Linked DNA regions of Homo sapiens: region 1 is linked to region 2. Evidence: promoter capture Hi-C in human tissues and cell types (Jung and others, 2019). All regions are on one chromosome and are shown on one strand. The core of a region is centred on a gene start or on the middle of the fragment in contact, and the rest is flanking DNA. Distances in the headings are between cores, read along the strand shown. Region 1 overlaps FAM193B (family with sequence similarity 193 member B). Region 2 holds the start of N4BP3 (NEDD4 binding protein 3).

Region 1 (6,327 bases), core at 225-2,724, 570 kb after region 2:
TAATAATCATCAGATCCCCTGTGCTTTGCTGGACCCTATCCCAGACTTACAGAGTCAGTCTCCAGGTCTGGATCCCAGGTATCTATTGTTGAATTGTTCCCAAGTGACTCTGACATGTGACTGGGTCTGGGAGCTGCTGAATTGAGGGTGCCAGGGGGATCTTTGAGGAGACCTAGGGTATTCTTCAAACAGTGGGTTTCCCAGGGAGGAGCTTTTCCATAAACAAGAACAGAAACAACCTTAGTTTAAAACAGAACAAAAAACCTTCCCCCAGTTCTGATCTATTAATGATATTTGCCAACTTCCATTGTGTATAATCTTCCATTGTGTATCCAAACACTTACCTGTGCCTACTCTGTGCTACAGCTTCTGCTGAATGACTGCAATACAGTGACTTGTGGGACACAGGCTCTGCCCTTGAAAAGCTCACAGTATTGTGGAAAGGACAGATTTCAACCACTAGAATATATATGATAAGCTCTATTCTAGAGATACGTTTTTAAACAAAAGAGTGTTAGGATATCCTAGAGCAAAGCCAAGTTCATTCTTCCTGTGGACTTAAGAGGATGTAACACCCAGATCGAGCCTAAAAAAAAGAGAAGAAAAAGGCAGAAGGAACAGCATATGGGAAGGTGTGACTACTTTATGTATTTGGTCCTTCTTGGCAGGATGTGCAGAAGCAGAGAAGGACTGAGGAGAGGCATGCTATGTCTTGGGAAGGGCCCTGTGTGTGTGCCTTCGGTTCTGTGCCTGTGAGCCTGCCTTCATCCTTCAGACTCTGGGTGGCTCCCAGCACAGCAGCTGCATGGTTGTGCAGCCTGTGGGCCAACATGCTGCAGTCCATCTCCCCTTCATTCTCCACCAAAGGCCCTTAGCTCCCTTTATTATTTCCCCCTCCATGCTTAGGATGCTTAGCACAAGTGGTAGCTACGAGTAGATCTATCTACTGTGAAAAATGATGTAGGGAAACTAAAGCAGAAAGAAGGGGCTGGTGGAACTGCAAACACTGAAGGTTTTATTAGGAAGTTATAGCCAGAAAACAAGGAGCTGGGGGTTCAAAGAGGCCTTGAAGTCACTTGTCTAGTCCTTCTGTCCTTTGCTTCAAGAAATAAATTTGGGGCCGGGCGCGGTGGCTCACGCCTGTAATCCCAGCACTTTGGGAGGCCGAGACGGGAGGATCACGAGGTCAGGAGATCGAGACCATCCTGGCTAACACGGTGAAACCCCGTCTCTACTAAAAAATACAAAAATTAGCCGGGCATGGTGGCGCGTGCCTGTAGTCCCAGCTACACAGGAGGCTGAGGCAGGAGAATGGCGTGAACCCGGGAGGCGGAGCTTGCAGTGAGTCGAGATCGCGCCACTGCACTCCAGCCTGGGCGACAGAGCGAAACTCCGTCTCAAAAAAAAAAAAAAAAGAAATAAATTTGGTTTGGGCAAGTCTCACTTAGTAAGTTTCCCTGTCATTTCTTCCAGGGCAGAAGAGGAAAGAAACTAACGGGTATTGAGCACCTACTTTGTGCCAGGCCCAGGCCAGGTACTTTACATAATTTATTTCCTTCTGTCCTCACAACTCTGTAAAATATGGTTTTATTCCCATTTCATAAATGAGGAAATTGAGGCTCAAAGAAATTGAGTAATATTCCAAGATCATATTGAAAATGGCAACTGGGATTTGAACTCACAACTGTGTGTCTCGTCCCCAAAATTCATGCTCTTCCTCCTCCATGAGTAACGTGTGCTGGGGTTAGAGTAGCAGAGTGGCAGTTTGACCTGAGGATTCAGGTAAATCTGCGGCTTGGGCCCTCCTTGTGGCTCATTGCACCCAGGAGGCAGTTCAGCGGATGAGCTAGCCTTGTGGGGATATTAAAACAGAAAGTTTTAGGGTTAAGGTCACTAGGATCAGAGAGACTCACTCCCAACCGAGCTTGTACAACCAGAAAGGATTCTCCACTGACTAGTCTCGTAGTGTGAAACAGCTGTTCTACCTCCTGGAAGGGCCTGAGCCCACAGCCTGCATGGAAGTTTGGGTAACAGCTCCAGGGCACTGAGGTGGGGTTGTGTCAGCTCTCTTAGAATTAACTGCAGCTCTGATTGTCAGCATTAGAATAGTCTGAGATTCTTCTCACTGATTGCCCTCTCATCAGTGGCTCAGAGTGACTCATAGCATGTTGGGAAATGCACTGTTTTGGCTCTGTTTTAAATTCTGCCTTTGTGTTGAACAGCTGAGACATGAGCCAGATGGGCTTTAAGCTTTCATTTATTTATTCAGTGAATGCCTGCAATGTGTCAGGCCCAAGCCAAGCCTAGGTTCCTGGGCATACTTAAATGACCAAGGTCCACACACTGCCCCCAGAGGGCTCACATTCTACCAGGAATTTAGGAACAGACAGAATACATCTGTGGCACATTTTGATGATGCTATACTAAATAGAATCAGTTGTGCTTAGCTTGACCAGCAAGAGCTTCATTGACCTTTGACCAGAATCTTAGGGAATGAATAGGAATTGTCAAGGGTAGATGTTTCCCGGCACTTAGCACAATTGGCAGGAGACAGGGACTCTGACAATGTTGAATGAGGGAATAAATGGGTGAATGGAAGAGTGACTGATGATAACTATGACAATGAGTTTTTCTAGGCTGAGGATTAATCATTTTCTCTGCTTCTGAAAGGGAATTTTAGCTGCTGGTGTTGTCCTCTGCCTGCCTTGGTGACAGAGAGGCTCTTGGAGTTGGGTGCCTTGAGAGTAGAGTGCTCTAATGGGCCATTTCAAAATAGAATTTGGGACCTGTTGCAGGGCAGCTGGTTAGATACAGCATGTGTCTTGGGGCAATCCTGTACGAACATACACAAACTCTGGAGATGAAAAAGAATCCATGGGATGAATGAGGCCACGCTGAGTGCTGGAAATTCAATCCAGCTTCAGAGTAGTCCTTGACAGCTGTCTGGTCTGGCAATGGGTTATTCCCAAATTGTGGACAGAAAGGCCAAGCTAGAAAATTGAGTCATGCCCCCAGAGAGCTATCTTTTTTTTTTTTTTTTTTTGAGACAGGCTCTCACTGTTACCCAGTTTGGAGTACAATGGTGCAATCTTGGCTCACTGCAACCTCCGTCACTTGGGCTTGAGCAATCCTCCAACCTCAGGAGACCTTATATATTCCTAAAAATTATTGAGGAACCCAAAGAGCTTTTGTTTGTGTTGTTTATATCTATTGATACTTACCAAATTAAATATTAAAGCTGAGAAAGCTTTAAAATATTTTGTCACTAATTTATTTAAGAAAGACAATATTAAAGCTATCTTGTTAACATAACAATTTTTAATGAAAACTATATTTTCCAAAACAAAATTAGAAGAATGGCCAGGTGTGGTGGCTCATGCCTGTAATGCCAGCACTTTGAGAGGCTGAGGCAGGCGGATCACTTGAGGTCAGGAGTTCAAGACCGGCATGGCCAACATGGTGAAACCCTGTCTCTACTAAAAATATAAAAATTAGTCAGGCGTATTGGCAGGCGCCTGTAATCCTAGCCACTTGGGAGGCTGAGGCAGGAGAACCGCTTGAACATGGGAGGTGGAGGTTGCAGTGAGCTGAGATCATGCCACTGCACTCCAGCCTGGATGACAGAGCGAGATTTCATCTTAAAAAAAAAATTAGAAGAATGGTCTTCTTTTCATTTTTGCAAATTTCTTTTCATCTGGCTTAATAGACTAAAGCTGGCTTCTCATATATGCTTCTGTATTCAGTCTTTTGCAATACATTGTTTTGGTTGAAGTATATGAAAAAAAATCCAACCTCACACAAATATGTAAGTGAGAAAGGGAGGAATGTTTCAGTAGCCTTTCCAAATAATTTCCATTATTGAATTTGAGCCCATATCAGTGAAGTCTTCATACTCATTTACACTAAAATCTATTGGTCGAGCCAGTGCTTTGAATCCATCATGCTTTGGTCATTTGGAAAATAGGCTCACTGGATTTTGCACATCTTCCAAATGTTTTCCATTTCATTTTACAATGCCAAAAGATAACATTTGTTAATATCACCACCAATTTCATCAGAAAAGTCTTCAAGTATTTGGAAGCTGTCAAACTCATGGTGGTAGATGCAAGTTTCAGAATTTTAATTTTCACTTGAAAGCTTGCATTTTATATCATTGCCCACAAATACTGTCAGTTGTTTTCCTTGAAGTGACAGGCTCATTTTATTCATTGTTCATTTTTTTGAGAAAATGTCTGCCAATACCCAAGTCTAAATAGTAAGTCATTCTTTCAGTTAAAAAATGGTGTTCCATGAAAAAAAGTGGCTTCCTCTTCCTTTGATTTTATCTCTCTTTTATCCAGGAAAAACTAGAATGCCCTAACTTAATGCTTCTCAGGCCAAGACAAAAAAGTCTTGGGCCTGATCTGGTAAGGGAGCAGAGATAATGGTTTTAATGGCTACAGATGCCAGCCCCCTAGGCCCTAGAGTGCACCTAGAGCTCACTTGGCCCCTTCACTGCTCTGGGGATGTGCATGCTACAGCATGGATCCCTTGTGAGTAATCTCACACTCTCCAGAGATTCTGGTTATGCTTAGAGTGAAGAAAAATTATCTTGGAGCTTTTTTGAGGAGATCCCAAATCAGTAGAACCCCCAGAACTTTTCTTCCCTCATCTTTTGCCTAAGGCTAGACCTGCATCCTCAGAGGCTCTGAAATTTAAACTGAGGTGAGCAGGAACAATGGGCTGCTGCCCAGGGCTGCTGGATTCAAGAATCAGTTCCATCAGCCTTTGTGATGAAGAAAAATGGTTGGAGTTTTCATTCATTGGATGAACATTTACTGATCTCTTCTTTGTGTAGGAATACTGTGCCAGGTGCTAAAAGTACAGCTTGGGAGCAGCTGATTGAAAGTCTGGGTTGACCGACTTTTCAGGGCATAAGGGGTCATGAATGCCAGAATTTGGGAAATGGCAGCAGATCACAGTCAAAGGGAACTCTGAACCAAGAGCTGTTCTCTGCCAAAGCAAAAATTTGAAGGAACCAGTGGCATTACTGACTATAAATATAACATCTCTAGGGCTTGGGATTCTTATCACCCTCTAGCAATTAAAGTGGAGATGAAAGTAGCAGAGGAAAGTTCCCAGTTCCACAAGGCATCATACCTAGGGGCAGGCGCCATGGCCTAGAGTTCAGACATCAGCTTTAGGGGTGGCCCCTCAAACTGCCTGGGCCTCAAAGAAGGACTCAAGTGTACCAAACTCAGAGAGGACAGTGGATAAACTAGTCTTCAATGTAGACTTAGAACAGAACAGCCAAGGGGCTTAGATAATAGATTGAGTGCCTGCAGCCTGGATCCCTTGAGCTAAGTGCTTTGTATCTCTAATGTGACTTAATCCTGTGGGCAGCTTTATGCAGCATGGGTGGTATCATCACTCAGTTCTGTGGGCAGCTTCAATTAGAGCTTAATTAGCTTTTCAGGCCCTGTGTTTCTTGCTTTAACTAGGAAGACAACCTATCCTGTAAAGTCACTTCTAGTGATGGCTAATCTCATTTATTTTGTGTACCATTTTGGCTCTCGGGAGAGTCACATTATTTCCATTAACTGGGGGCATCTCATTATAATCCCTAAAGAATGCAGTCTTTTACTCTTAACGCGGTTAAGATTGGAACCATTCTGGAGGTCAGGTGGACAGATGGGCCTTTCTCTGTAGGCAGCAGTAATTTCAAGCAGTGTCTCATTGGACTGCCTGCCGGCTGCATTGCCATGGGGACACCTAGCAAATCTGAGTTCTCTACCACATGGCCCACTGAGTCCATGCCTGAAGCCAGGCCCTGTGCTGCACTGTGAGGGATCCAGACAGGAATCAGACCTGGCACCTGCCTCTTGTAGAAGGGATGGAAGATACAGGAAAATAAATTGTGCAGAAGACACAACTACTGTAACCAAGGCACAGTGTACTAGGAGGAGATGGGAGAGGAGAAGTGAATTACGAGAGGAGAAAGCCTAGAGGAGGTTGGACTTAAATTGAGCCTTTAGTCTCAGCTAGTCATTGGAAAAACATGAGAAGAAAGTGGGTTTTAAGCAAGGAATCACCTTTAGCGAAAGCATGAAATAGAAAAAGGCAGAGATTATTTTGGGAACTTAGGGAATGACTTCATGGGGTTGAGGGGAGAGATTAAGATTTCTAACAAGTCAGTTTAGATTCATCATATATGAGAGACTCACGTTTGTGTAAAATGCAGTGACCATTTATTGTTTCCTATTGTTCCTGTCGTGTTAATGATGAATACCATGTGTTCAGCAACATCTATGTGCCTAGCACTGGACTAGGTGCTTTGTCACATTTATT
Region 2 (5,866 bases), core at 835-3,334:
CGCCTAAGGTCACGTTCAGCCGCAGGGGAGAAAGCACACAGGCTCCAGGATTAGAAGTCCTCTCGGATCCCACCTTGCATCTCCTCTGGGGTGGGACATTCCAGTCCCCACATGGGCAGGAGTGCTGCCTGCCCTGGCTACAGTCAGCCCCTCCTGAGCCCTGGCCCCAGGGAAAGGTCCCACCACCTGCTGGGGGATCAGCTCTGCTAAGGGGCGTGTCTGCAGCTGCCCCTAAGGAATGGGACTGGAATGTCCCAGCTCCAAAAGGGGGGGGTAGTAGGCAAGGGGGGCCCAGAGAGGGGCTGGGAGAGGCTGGCCCACCCCATCCCCTCTGTGACAGACACTTGAGGCAGAGACAGGGGCTAAAGCCTGCGGAAGTGGTGCTTAGTATCACCATATAGTGCTTCACGGCTGCACCGCAGTCTACAGTTTTTTCTCAGCCCTTCTATTTCATTATCTCATTTCATCTCCACAATAGCCTCGTGGGGGCAAACAGGACAGTAATTACCCTCACGCCATTTTACAGATCGGGAAACTGAGGCCTCGGAAGGCGAGGTGAGTTATCCAAGATCCCACAGTGAGAAGCAATCTCAACTCCCTGGGCAAGGTCCTTTCTACCTCAGCAGGTTGTCCTAAGCCAGGGGTCACGGGTTCCCCTCCATGGGCACACACTGCTGTGTATGTATTGCATATATGTCTGCCCAGCCCTCCATGCCTGTTTCTCCCAAGGACACTTGCAACCAGGCTGCCCTAGACTGCGGTCCACCAGGCCTGGAATCCCTCCTGCTGCCCCCCAGGTCAGGAAGAAATAGAGGAAACCTGCCTCATGGGGACTCCGAGTCGCTATGCTAGCTCTAGAGGCGGTGGCAGAGGCAGGCTGGCCGCATTCATTCACAGTCTGGCACATGCACACCACACGCTGCCAGCCGGTAGAGAAGCCCTGCCTGGGAGGGCCCTGGGAGGAGGCTGATAACCGCGCCCAGGATGGCCTCCTGCGTCCGCTCCCTCCCGAGGACAGCCAGGCCCAATCTGTTCCTATGTGGTTGGGGTCGGGGGGTGGCCCAGTGGGAGGCAACGGGTCTCAGTTCTCTTTCTGGATACAGCCAGGGCCCTGATTTCGGCTTGTCCCCAGGCCAGCCCTCACTTGGGCCAAAGGCTGTGGCCGGGACTGGACCGGGTGCTCTGGCGGTCAAGACCTAGGAATGTCCCCTACCCGCAGACCCGCAGCTGCAGCCTGGTGGACCGGCAGGGGGTTGGGGGATAAAGGAGGTGTGGGAGGAAGCGAGAGATCTCATGGGGAAGTCAGAGGGGCAAACGAGGTTGCATCCCCACGGAATTTGTGTCAGGAAAGCAGGGGTGAAGGCGAGGGTTCCCCAAAGCTGCGGGAGGTCCCGGAGCTACCTGGGGGGCGGGGTGGGAGGCGCGTCTCCTCCTGGCCCCTCCCTGAGGCCTGCCGGGAGCGGCTGGGCCGGGGGGCGGAGGCCGAGGTCAGACGCCGGCGCCAAGGACGCCTGCCCCACCCAGCCGTGGCGCAGGGGTCCCGCGCGCTGCTCCCTGGAAAGCGCGTTTGCAGGGGTTGGGGAGAGCAAGGTAGCCTGCCGCCTGCCCCTCCAGCGGAGCATCGGGGTCGGTCCCCGATCCGGTGCCTCGGTGACCGGGAGCAGGGGACACCTGGGCGCACGCCGCACCTTGCCACCCCCGCCCATCTCTCAGACGGGAGCCTCGGCCAGCGGGACAGCAGCTTTGCCAAGGACGCCCGAAAACAAGACCTTGGCGACCCGCCCCACCCCTCCCCACCCCCCGAGTCCAGCCCGGGTCCCCAGCCCCTCGCGCGCCCCACTTACCATGGTGGCGACGCGCTCGCCGGCCCGCGGCTCCGCAGCCCTTGCGCGTCGCAGCTCCCCCGCGCGGATTTGAACCCTCCTGCAAGGCGTCGGCTCGGGCCGGGACTGCGTGCCGGGTCGGAGCGGCGGAGCGGCAGGCGCCGGGAAAACGCGGGCGGGCGCCGGCGCCGGAGCCGGATTGGCGAGGGAGGGACGCGCTCCGCGGCGCTCGATCGCCTGCCCCAAAGGCGGAGGGAAAACCCGGCCTGACTCACCGGCGCGCGGCAAGCCCACAGCCCGGCCCCGGCCCCCGGATGTGGGGGGCGGGGCCGCCTACCCGCGAGCCAACCTGGGCCCCGCCCGGCCCCGACCGCGCCCCCGGCCCTGACCCGCAGAGGCGCCGCACGGCGGTGGCGGGCGAAACCTGGACCGGCTGCGCCTCGCGTCGCTGCCTCCTTGAGCGCCCCGGCTCGTTCCCGAGGGGTGGGCAGCCCCGAGCGCGGCCCACGCCCCAGAGAGCGCACAGCGCCCCCGCTTCTCCTCCTCCGCCGTTCGCCTCGCCCGCCTCCTCTAAGGAAGAGGCGCGTGAGGTCCCTCACCTCCCTAATTGTAGCCGCCTCCTCTCCGGAAAACCTGATTTCCCCCCTTTGGGGATGAACCACAGTAGTACTTTGAGAAGTGAAAAGATTTTACCCCACGACTCTGGCTGAATTGGGCACAGAGTTATTTTCTTTTTGCCTCCAAAGTATTCTAGGGGCAGCAAAATCAGGTGCCTTCAGGGGCCAGAAAAATTACGCAAATGAGTCGTGAGCTTCCTACTAAGACAGTAGGAAGACATGGAAACAGACACAGACACGTAAAGGAGTCATATTCGAAAAATTAAAACACCGTTTCTAATTCAAAAGTTAAGCATAGAGTTACCATATGATCCGGCAATTATAGTCCTCAAACAAGTAATGTTCTTGGCAGTACTAGTCACAATAGTCAAAGAGCCAAAAGGTGGAAACAGCCCAAACTAACAATTGATGAGGGTGTAAGCAAACAATGGTAGATCCATTCAGTGGAATATTATTCAGCCATAAAAAAGAAATGAACGCCATGTGATGACTCATGTCTGAACTCTCCCAGCACTTTTGGAGGCCAGGAGTTCAGGAACAGCCTGGGCAACTCACAAAACTCCATCTCTATCTTAAAAAAAAAAAGACCTGATGTGGTGGCTCACCCCTGTAATCCTAGCATTTTGGGAGGCCGAGGCAGGCGGCTCACTTGAGGTCAGGAGTTTGAGACCAGCCTGGCCAACATGGCGAAATTCTATCTCTACCAAAAACACCAAACATTAGCCAGGCATGGTGGAGCGAGCCTGTAATCCCAGCTACTCGGGAGGCTAAGGTAGGAGAATTGCTTGAACCCAGGAGGCAGAGTTGCAATGAACGGAGATTGTGCCACTACACTCCAGCCTGGATGATGGCGTAAGCCTGTCTCAAAAAAAAAAAGAAAGAAAAGAAAAGAAAAAGAGGAATGAAACACTGATGATACCTGCTACAACATGGATAAACCTCCAAAACATGGCAAGTGAAAGAAACCAGACACAAAGCCCACATGTGTTAATGATGCCATTTATAATAAGTAAATCCAGACAAACAGAAAGCAGATTAGAGCCAGAGGCTGTGGGGAGAGAGAAAGGCAGAGTGATTGCCTAACAAGCATAGGGTTTCCTTCTGGGATGAGGAAAATGTTTTGGAGCCTGACAGAGGTGGTGGTTGCACAACGTTATGAATATACAAATGTCATTGAATTGTTTGCTTTAAAACGGCTAATTTTATGGTATGCACATTTTACCTCAATTAAAAAACATCTTGTCACTTGTGGAACAGATTTGGTCTACGGCCCACAAATTTGCAACCCCTTGTGTTCTATGCTGTTCTTACCAATTCTTGCTAGGACAGCATAGAACCTCTAGGAAGAACTTCTGGCCAGGCATGGCGGCTCACGCCTGTAATCCCAGCACTTTGGGAAGACGAGGTGGGCAAATCAATTAAGGCAAATGATTTGCCTGCCTCAGCCTCTCAGTGTGCTGGGAGTACAGGCGTGAGCCACCATGCCTGGCTGAAAGAACTTTTTTTTTGAGATGGAGTCTTGCTCTGTCGCCCAGGCTGGAGTGCAGTGGTGCGATCTCAGCTCGCTGCAAGCTCCGCTTCCCGGGTTCACGCCATTCTCCTGCCTCAGCATCCCAAATAGCTGGGACTACGGGTGCCCACCACCACACTCGGCTAATTTTTTGTATTTTTAGTGGAGATGGGGTTTCACCATGTTAGCCAGGATGATCTCGATCCCCTGACCTCGTGATCCACCCCCCCTTGGCCTCCCAAAGTGCTAGGATTACAGGCATAAGCCACTGCGCCCGGCAACTTTTTTTTTTTTTTGAGATGGAGTTTCACCCTTGTTGCCTAGGCTGAAGTGCAATGGCGTGATCTCAGCTCACTGCAACCTCCCCCTCCCAGGTTCAAGCGAGTCTTCTGTCTCAGCCTCCCGAGTAGCTGGTTGGCACAGGTGTGTGCCACCATGCCCGGCTAATTTTGTATTTTTAGTAGAGACGGGGTTGGTCAGGCTGGTCTTGAACTCCCGACCTCAGGTGATCCACCTGCCTCGGCCTCCCAAAGTGCTGGGATTACAGGCGTGAGCCACCACGCCCGGCCAGAATTTCTAATAGAACTGCCAGACTTCAGAATACTTGTCTAAGAAAACTCATTAATAGCTGCTGTGGGTCTCAGCCCTTGAGGAGCCAGTCTGGTAGGGTTACTCACTGGGACAGATAAAGTTTCAGAGCAAGAACCTGTTTGGCTGTTTGGGGGACCCAAGGAAAGGCCTCACTGGAGCAATGGTTTTTGAGATGGTCCTGGAAGCATTTCCACTGAGGAGTGTTCCCAGCAGAGCAGATAGCAGGGCTAGAGAAGGCAGGGCACGTTCAGCTTGCTAGCAAGGTCCAAGCCCTGGGTGGGAAAGGTTAGTGGTGGGAAGGGACGAAGGTGGCAACCGAGAGCAGACCCAGAGAAGCCTCTTGAAGTGGGCGCTGGGAGCCTCCGAAGCATTGAGAGAGAGGAGCTTGTGCACGCAGCTGGACGTGGGGCCTGTGAGGTGGCACAGGCAGGCAGGGAGGTCGGGTCCCCTGGGTCTCTAGGGAAAGAAATGGGGCCAAGGAGGACCTGGAAGCTGGAAGCTGCCGAGAAGGTGTTCATTCTGTCAACTGAGTGGGAGAGACAGTGATAGAGATGTTTATGAGAGGGTTTGAATGAAGGTTCTTATAAGAATCCACTTGCAAGAAATGGCATGAGGAAGAGAGAGAGAGGTCACAGCTAAGTTCTGATGAAAACTCAGATTCTGGGTTGGGTGCAGTGGCTCACGCCTGTAATGCCAACGCATTAGGAGGCCGAGGTGAGAGCATTGCTTAAGCCCAGGAGTTCCCTGGGCGACATAGCAAGACCCCATCTCTATAAAAAAATAAAAAATTAGCCAAGCCAGTGGTGCCTATAGTCCCAGCTACTCGAGAGGCTGAGGCAAAAGGATCCCTTGAGCCTAGGAATCAGAGGCTGCAGTGAGCTATGATCGAACACTGCACTCCAGCCTAGGTGACAGAGCAAGACCCTGTCTTTAAAAAAAAAAAGGCCGGGCACGGTGGCTCACACCTGTGATCCCAGCACTTTGGGAGGCCGAGGCAGGAGGATCACGAGGTCAGGAGATCGAGACCATCCTGGCTAACACGGTGAAACCCTATCTTTATTAAAAATACAAAAAATTAGCAGAGTGTGGTCGTGGGCGCCTGTAGTCCCAGCTACGCGGGAGGCTGAGGCAGGAGAATGGCATGAACCCAGGAGGTGGAGCTTGCAGTGAGCCGAGATGGTGCCACTGCACTCCAGACTGGGCGACAGAGCGAGACTCCGTCTCAAAAATAAATAAATAAATAAATAAATAAAGGCAGGACACAGTGGCTCATGCCTGTAATCCCAGCACTTTGGGAGGCCAAGGCAGGTGGATCACCTGAGATC

Evidence for each region. Contacts are between HindIII fragments. The study calls those that stand out against the background at their distance.
Region 1: a contact is called between a fragment that was not itself captured here and the fragment with the promoter of N4BP3 in region 2, in 3 of the 25 tissues and cell types used here (dorsolateral prefrontal cortex, spleen and thymus).

Annotation. Positions count from the first base shown.
Region 1 is chr5:177,542,375-177,548,701 of GRCh38, reverse strand. All of the region lies in intron 1 of FAM193B (family with sequence similarity 193 member B), which reads left to right. Among named protein-coding and RNA genes, the nearest start is that of FAM193B, 9.0 kb to the left of the region's middle. The HindIII fragment of the contact is 4,436 bases long and covers 1-3,692 here.
Region 2 is chr5:178,109,750-178,115,615 of GRCh38, reverse strand. N4BP3 (NEDD4 binding protein 3) reads right to left here and starts at 2,084. Exons shown (of 5, transcript NM_015111.2): 1 at 1,845-2,084. RefSeq lists silencers at 275-384, 995-1,044, 1,395-1,714, 1,795-2,344 and enhancers at 855-914, 443-956. The HindIII fragment of the contact is 21,734 bases long and covers 1-5,866 here.